Regions from separate parts of the Homo sapiens genome. Here regions 1 and 3 are each linked to region 2. Evidence: promoter capture Hi-C in 16 types of primary human blood cells and fetal thymus (Javierre and others, 2016). All regions are on one chromosome and are shown on one strand. Each heading gives the region's core, a stretch centred on a gene start or on the middle of the fragment in contact. The rest is flanking DNA. Distances are from core to core; before and after follow the strand shown. Region 1 overlaps PRKCE (protein kinase C epsilon). Region 2 holds the start of PRKCE-AS1 (PRKCE antisense RNA 1). Region 3 overlaps PRKCE (protein kinase C epsilon).

Region 1 (2,700 bases), core at 121-2,620, 110 kb before region 2:
AAGGACAGCCAGGGCTGAGGGTTGAGAATCCCTGTCTTTCCCCCCTTTCCCCCAACCAGAGAGACAGTCTCACTCTGTTGCCCAGGCTGGAGTGCAGTGGCATGATCATTAGCTCACTGCAGCTTTGAACTACTAGGCTCAAACAATCCTCCTGCCTCAGCTTCCTGAGTAGCTAGGACCACAGGCAGGAGCTATGCTCCACTGGAGTTACAGTGATGAGTTACATGCCCATATGATTTAAAAAATTTTTGTAGAGCCAAGGTCTCACTATGGTCCTAGGCTTTTGTCAAACATACACATTAGCACAGTGAAAGAAGACATGCAATAAATGCATGAACTGTGAACAGTATTTTAATAAATGTATTAAATAATATGGTCAATCTTATGGTCTCTGTACACAAATTTCTGAGTTATCACATTATTATACAAAATCCAGAGGCACCTTTTCTTTTGTAGACATGGGATCTTGCTATGTTGTCCAGGCTGGTCTTGAACTCCTGTCCTCAAGCAATCCTCCTGCTTCAGCGTCCCAAAGTGCTGGGATTATAGGCATGAGCCACCTTCCCCCACCAAGAACCTGTCATCTGTCTTAAAAGACACAAGTCTTCAGTGCGGTGGTTTTGCGAGGGTCTAAGTGGGTGGTTCTCCACCTTGCTTGCACATTAGAATCCCAAGGAGAGTTATTAAAATGCATGGGACACATCTCCAAAGATTCTGATTTAATTGGTCTGGGGTAGGACTAGGTTCTGGTATTTGAATATTATTTGAATATTCAGCCAGAGTTGAGGACCAATGGTGTAAGTCAATGCCCTTCTCTGATTGACCTATCCTTAAACATATGAAGCTAAAGAATCAGGAAATGTATCTTCATATATTTCTTCAGACCTAAAAATCCCGAGAATAGCACTACTTTGCCTACTTTAGACAGAAAGTAAGTAATAAAGGCATCTGAATAGAGAATTAGATTTGATGTTATAATGTCCACATACATCCCTTTCAGACGGAGTGTCCCTCTGGTCCTCATGAAAAGCTTGTTTCATTTCATGCACTGTTGAAACAAGATCACTTATCTGGTTTCTAAACCAACAGCTGATCAGAATCAAGTAAATTAGAGGCAATGGAGGGGTAGGTAGAAAGGATGAGAGAGGCTGTGTAGAAGCAGGCCCCCTGATTGCAATGAGAAGTGAGTGCTGATAGAGAAGACACAGAAAAACTGAAGTAAGTAGACACTGCACGTAAAAACACTGGAGTCAGGATTCTCTAATGAAGGGACAAACACCTTGATGTATCCAGAATGGCTCTGTGAACATCAACGTGCCACTGCATAGCAACATTACCGATGCTCCTAAGAAAAGCCCAGAGTCACCAAGGATGAGTTAAATTATGTTCATTATAACCATTTTATGAAAGCTGAAATAGGGGTGATGACTTCCATCCAAAATAGTAATAATAAAAGGTAAGTGTAGTTTAAGGAATACGCCTTTAGCTATTTGGAAATTGCAGTCACCCAGAACAACCCATGCCCTGAGAATCCCAAGTAGCCACAGACTTCAGTAGGAGACACTTTGGCAGGAAAAGTTTCGGCTTGACCAGGAAGAAATCCTGTCCCTCTCAGAGTCAGAACACGGTGAGGCCTGAAATGGGGGAGAATATTATTGAACGATCCTGACCTTCAGGGTTTCTAGGCACACACAGGGTACTCCAAGCTTTCATTGAAAACCTAACATGAGAGACAGCTAAGACAAAGGGAGAGCAGTGAGAAGCCTCTGTGGCTGGCAGGATCGCAATGCTCTGGATGGGCCGCTGGTTACATATCACTCCCCTGCACAGGATCTCCAGGCCTGCAATTCCTTGCTGAGAACTTCATCCCTTGAGGTCATACATCCCACTACCCAGACACTTTCTTTAGATGCAAAAATCCATGGGATGGTTAATACCTGTATCGCGAACCCTGAGCCAAGTTGTCAGGTCTCTTCTGTTGATACGGTAAGCCTTGTCGTTTTCAATATCTTTCCCCTCTCCAGATGAAATCTTATATGGAACCCAAATATATTATAAAGAGAAAATGGGATACCCCTGGTTGAAGGGCTTTCCATAGCATGAGTCTTGTCACCCCTCCCTCTCATCAGGTTCCCATGAAACACCTGTTTAGGAAACCATCTGGAAAAGACCTGCCTGGCTCCATTGCCTACAACTGAACTTCCCCTCCCCAGACGCACCTGCAGGCTCAGTCCCATTCTGTGGCCAGCATTGCCCAGAGGTGATGACTGGTCAGGGGCCTCTCAGCTGCTATTCAGCTCAGATGTCTCTGACTTTGTGTCTCTCTCTCTCTCTGTCTCTGTCTCTCCCTCTCCCTCATCACATTTTATCCTACTAGGCTATTTGTTCTCCAAATCCACCCCCAAAACTATCTAGGTGTGATCATTGAGTTCCTGTGCCTGGAATCCCGTTTTGGTCAAGCTTCCGAGCCTGCACTCAGCTCCAGCTATCACCAGCTCCTGTTGAGAAGCTCAGCGCCCCCAGCAGGGCTGCCAGCTACAGCCACGCTCCTCCCAGCTTGGGGGGACACCTCACTTCCAAATGGCCAAGTGTAGATTTTCCCACATCCACCAGCAGATAAGATTCACTCAGGGTCTCTATTCAATGTGCAGATTCCCAAACCCATAGGATCATCGGATCCAGGGGAAACCGATGGGAAAT
Region 2 (2,700 bases), core at 173-2,672:
TGAGTATCTGTCCCCCAATTGGAGCATGAGCCCTCTGAGATTAGGGTACCTATCTAGGCATGTTCCTGGTTATATCCCAAGACCTAGCTTGATGGCAGGGGCTCCCTAATGATTTATTAAATGAATGATCTAGAAACTATGAAGAAAAGAGGAAAGAATGGAGACACTTGATACCTCCTTCCTTCCCCAACCAGCAGTGACTGACCACAGAAGGATGGGCCTGCATGGCCTTTACTCGCTCCCTCCTTAGAACCTGAGCTGAGCCTTCTATTACTCTCTTCATTATCACAACCTTTCATCACAATGGGGCAATATGTATGTCCAGTCAAGAATGAAACAGGCAATGGTGTTTGTACGGACTGGGCTACTTCCATGTATGGATCAGAGTTTATATCCCAATAGAACCATCTTCCTCTCTATCCATACTCTAGTCTTATAAACTTAGTTTTCCTGTTAATGCAAAAATATAATCCTTATTGACGTCATTCTGACCTGCATGTATTAAGAGAGGAAAAGGCTCTGTATCCTTTAAGAAATTATTAAAATGTTTTAAATTGTTTTGTTGCACTGGTTTCAGTTTAAAAGATCTCTTTTGCACAGCAACACTTCAATCACTAGAATACTTGCATTATGAGGCAAATAGTTACAAGAAACAGGCTGCTGGGGGAACAAGCACAGGTGAGCAATGGAAGGTCAACAGAGCCAAACACGCGGCAGAGAAGCAACAGAGGGTTCCATCTTGAGACTGGGAAACTTACCACTGATAATGACCATGTAATGACACCCCCAGTGAAGCTATCCTGAGGCTCCCTGTACTTCACAAGGCCAAGAAAATCCCGTCACGCCAATGGTAAACAACTTCTCAAAACAAACAAACAAAAAAACAAGTCAAGCATTGGTGTCTACTAGGCCATGATTTTAGAGCCAATGTAGAAAACATTGTAGGAGCTACTGCCAGGTACCGGTGCTGCTTGAATAAAAGCGTGGAGTGGAGGCAGCAACTATTGAAAAAGGGGAGTAAAATGCTGAGACGCTTCCACAGCCAAAGTTCACCCCTCCCCACCCACCTATCCTGCCAGCTGGAGGCTTCCTGGTGGAAGGCCACCTCTCACCAAAGTCAGGCCCATCTGTGAGCTGAGGGCCAGCTCCCCGGAGACCCCTGGGAATTCTGAGCAGTGCCAGATGACAAGCAGAGGCCTGAACTCTTCTGGCATGACCTTGGGCCCAGTACCTCCCCGCCTCCCCTCCTCCCACCTACAGTGATTAAAGATAACCCAGCCAAGCAGCCTGGCATGTTGAAAAGGAGCAGGGCTGGAGGGAAATGAGGAGGACCAAACCGGGAAATGCACCACTGAATTTCCTCAAACCACATGGACCTTAAAACTCGTCAGACCGGTTTAAAATTAGCCAATACCCAGGAGAATAATTCATTAAATGCAACTGTTATGATTCATTTAGAATTCACTCCAATTCTGAAATGATAAATGACAGTGCATTTATGTATAAATGACAGTGTATTCATCTCCCCAAAGCTGGTCACAAGTGCCCTCACTGCTCTGGAGTAAAACATGGGCTAGAAACAAGGAAGCAAAGACTTAAAAACAGCATCATGTTTATTCACTGGAGAAAAAGGTGAGCTGAGAAGAGCTGAAGGCCTGGGCTAAGGTGCTAAGGGGCACGCTGGGTCTTCCTGGTCTGGGGAAACGTTTTCTGGAAAGGAGACGGCTTAATGTACATCTACAGAGTGTTTTCTTGTGCTATTTTGTTTTGTAACTTACAGGGGATTTTTCTCTTTATAATTGATGAGGTCCAGTCTCCAAGATCTGCCTGCTGTCTTCCTGGTCAGCCAGGCTTGGAAACTCTCACCTCATCCCTTCCTTTCCTTCTCTGACATTTAATCAGCATTGAATTAAAATTAGGCATATGGATCACCCAAGGCAAATGGAAATTAAGATACTGGATTTATAACATGCATAATCCAAACACAGAAAATCTTGCTACCAAAAATAATCATGTCTCTCATCCATTTCCCAGACAAACAGTTCAACTGCCTGCTTCACTTTGCCTTCAAGTTTATCAAGATGAGGCCGAGAATTCTCATAAACTCCTCAAGGACACCAAAAGGAGTTCCTGTAGACTCACTCAGAGTCCTTTCCCTCCTCTCCCTCAAGCAGTGCCCACCTCTTTTCAGGAAGCATCTTCTCTTTTCCATTTGACTTTCATAAAGAAGCTGGAGTTTTATTTTTCCTTGGCCTCCAATCTGTGCTTTGGGCTGTGCCATAAAATTCCTCAGTAATTTATGACCTGTTTTTCCTTTAAAGTGGAGAAGCACTAATCCCTCACAGAGTGGGGAGACAAGCATTTCCAAAGTGAGGTAATCTAGAAATATATGCACTGACCACAGTGAGTTGGGCCCTGACTTACAATTGAAGGCTCATGTAAAGATCCCTAGCCCTTGACACAGAGTATGATCTCAGAAATAGCCTGGTCTCCAGTTAGTACCTGGTTTGACAGAGTCCTCTTGACCCAAAAGTCCATCTTTTCCTGTCACTGATATCTGAAAATTCCAGACATTGCCATGTCACCCTCCAGATAAAGGAAGGCCTCCTCCACAGCACTCTTCTAAAGCACCAGTCTTATATATCTCATTACGGCCATCTACCTCAGTGTAAATGAGTTTATACTCAGCCAAGAGGAAGT
Region 3 (2,700 bases), core at 66-2,565, 89 kb before region 2:
TTTTCATAAATGCTTTCCCCCAAATGAAAAGGAAAAAGGGGAAGAGGAAGAAAGAAGTGAAAAAGAATGACACCACTGCAGAGGCAAAGATGAGGTATTGAATGAAGAACTTTGGAAGCAAACCACAAAAGGTATTGCTACACACAGCACAACAGCCCTGCAGGGAGGTAGTAGAATTTGAGAACGAGGCCAAACGGAGATGGTTACTCTACAGCTTCAAGGCACCGGGGAGTCCAAATGAAGCATCTCCTCAGCACTCTACCTACAGTTCACACCTTACAACCCAACCTGGAGACTCCATTGGCCTTGGCCATTAGTTTGACCTTTCAATAAACATATTGTTTTTATTGTCAAGAAAACCTCTTCAGAAAGCTTATTCTCCAGGCTTACTCATCATGTGGCTGCTTCTTATAAAAAACAAAAATAAAGGAAACACTGAAGAATTAAGTAAAAATTAATTAGAAGCACATGGTTAAAACAGGCTTAGAGTTATGCATGGCTTAAGAACGTATTAAGGGTAAAGCGTTTCCTCCATCCAGACTTGAAGATTTGCTGAAAACAAGGCCCGTGTGAGTGGGTGGGTTTTTGAGCGGCTGGCATTTTGGACTGTACCAGGCCAAAGCCACAGGGAGGAAGGCTATGGTTCACATGGGGTCCACGTCCTTCAGCATGTTTGCTCTGCTCTTGATGTCAAGGAGAGACCTGAGAGATGCCAGAGACTCCATTGTCTCTAAGGCATTCAAGTAGGACCATTGTGTGAGACATAAGAACAAGAATAAAGACAGGAGTTAGGAATATTTTTAATATATGTTGATTTTAATGGGTTTAAAATATATATATAGTCTAATTCATTTGCAGCAGAATGAATGGCAATTTCCAAGCTCAAAAATAATAGTAACCCCAGCCTCAAGTTTCTGGCATGGAAGTAATAATTTGAGCTTATTTCTAAATGGGCTTACTAAATGAACAGATCAATTTTTTCTCAAATTTATGATATAAAAGAAATGGATGAAAAGAAATTTGGGAAGCTGAAACCTGCTGTCACCTACCTCTTTCATTTAGCCTCAGATCTGAATTGCCCTGTCTGGTTTCGGGGCCATGCCTGTCCCACTGCACACATTCGAGCTGCAGATATTCACTTTCACATGCAGGGGTCATGTCTAAAAACTGAACCCTGATTGCAACAGAAGCCAGTTAGAAGATTAATTAGTTAAGTATTTAATCAATTAATCCTGAATTAAGATCCCATTTTGGCTTTACTAGCCATAACCATTTCTTTCTTTGAACTAAAATCTTCTGCCTTCATTTATAAGCTCTTAAACCACGTGTTTGAATTTCCTCAGGTGGGCTGGAATTTTACCCCTCTTGTGTTGCAGAAGTGTAACTTAAATGGGCCAATATTTTCACCTACGGACATTCGTACAGGTGGGCTTTGCTTTAAGAAACTCAAGGAAATTAGCGTTTTAAGAACAGATAAAAACAATTCTTCTTATTGTGGGAGGACTCTTTTTGGTTCCTCCTAAGATACACTGATAACAAGAACTCCTGGGGTATTGTAATTGAAGCACTGGCCCCAACCCAAGGGATCGCAGTTCAGGACATCAAAAGATCCTTCTAGTTTTGAGATTCTGTGGTTGATACTAAAAATCAGAACCAACCTAAAACATAAGCAAGACGGCAGAGGACTGGGAAGGGAATTTAATTAGGTAAAAGGATGTCAGATCTAAGTGGAGAAACTGCAGGCATACAAGAAAGAGTCCACCAAAACAAACACCAAAGCTCCCAATCTGTTCAATTCGGCTTGGGATTCTTTTAACAAGGTGTGTGTCACTTTTCCCTCCACCGTGAGAGAGAGCCTAGAGCTGGCCTTCTCTTTCCCCCACTGATAAAATGAGTGGGTTAAACTACATGATCCCTTGGGCCCTTCCTGACTTTAGCGCTCACTGAGTCTGGGCAGAAGGGCAGCAAAAGACAGCGGAGGGAGCCTGAGACTAGCAGCAGCATGGCGGGTTATACCAAGGGAGATTGCAGAATCAAGCCCTACACTGAGTATTACTAAACTTAAATGCTGAAAACTGTCCTAGAAGAGGGAAAATCAATGAGGGCTGAGGTCCTTTGGAGACTAGGGAGGGGGTGGGACGTGAGCAAAGCCTTAACAATTCCTGTACTAGGCTGCACAACATTAGGTCTAGGTCCAGATGGTGAGGATGAAAAATGTTATGAAATCATTTCAGCCCCTGCCCTTTAGCATAAGCTTAGGCTTAATCATCCACTAGACAGGTCTCTGCTGTTTTTTACTGAAAAGTTCCTTATCTAACAAAGAAATGCCCCTTCCATTCACAGGCCCAAAGCAAAGCACACCCAAGATGTAGACTGGCCAAAGAAAGAACACCTCAAGGCCAGGAGCAGTGGCTCACGCCTGTAATCCCAGAACTTTGGGAGGCCGAGGTGGGAGGATCACGAGGTCAGGAGACCAAGACCATCCTGGCTAACATGGTGAAACCCCATCTCTAGTAAAAATACAAAAAATTAGCCGGGTGTGGTGGCAGGCGCCTGTAGTCCCAGCTACTCAGGAGGCTGATGAGGCAGGAGAATGGTGTGAACCCAGGAGGCGGAGCTTGCAGTGAGCCGAGATCGCGCCACTGCACTCCAGCCTGGGTGACAGAGCAGGACTCCGTCTCAAAAAAAAAAAAAGAAGAA

What was found. The method cuts DNA at HindIII sites, captures the fragments that hold promoters and counts their contacts. A CHiCAGO score of 5 or more calls a contact.
Region 1: a fragment that was not itself captured here is called in contact with the fragment with the promoter of PRKCE-AS1 in region 2 in 2 of 17 cell types (naive B cells and total B cells); the score reaches 5.5 in naive B cells.
Region 3: a fragment that was not itself captured here is called in contact with the fragment with the promoter of PRKCE-AS1 in region 2 in 2 of 17 cell types (total B cells and naive B cells); the score reaches 6.1 in total B cells.

The regions. Positions count from the first base shown.
Region 1 is chr2:45,786,989-45,789,688 of GRCh38, reverse strand. All of the region lies in intron 1 of PRKCE (protein kinase C epsilon), which reads right to left. Among named protein-coding and RNA genes, the nearest start is that of PRKCE-AS1, 110 kb to the right of the region's middle. RefSeq lists an enhancer at 2,139-2,700. The HindIII fragment of the contact is 676 bases long and covers 1,033-1,708 here.
Region 2 is chr2:45,674,242-45,676,941 of GRCh38, reverse strand. It overlaps PRKCE-AS1 (PRKCE antisense RNA 1), which reads left to right and starts at 1,422. Exons shown (of 2, transcript XR_940049.3): 1 at 1,422-1,632; 2 at 2,035-2,700. All of the region lies in intron 1 of PRKCE (protein kinase C epsilon), which reads right to left. The HindIII fragment of the contact is 8,353 bases long and covers 1-2,700 here.
Region 3 is chr2:45,762,951-45,765,650 of GRCh38, reverse strand. The region is part of intron 1 of PRKCE (protein kinase C epsilon); the gene reads right to left. Among named protein-coding and RNA genes, the nearest start is that of PRKCE-AS1, 89 kb to the right of the region's middle. The HindIII fragment of the contact is 1,882 bases long and covers 375-2,256 here.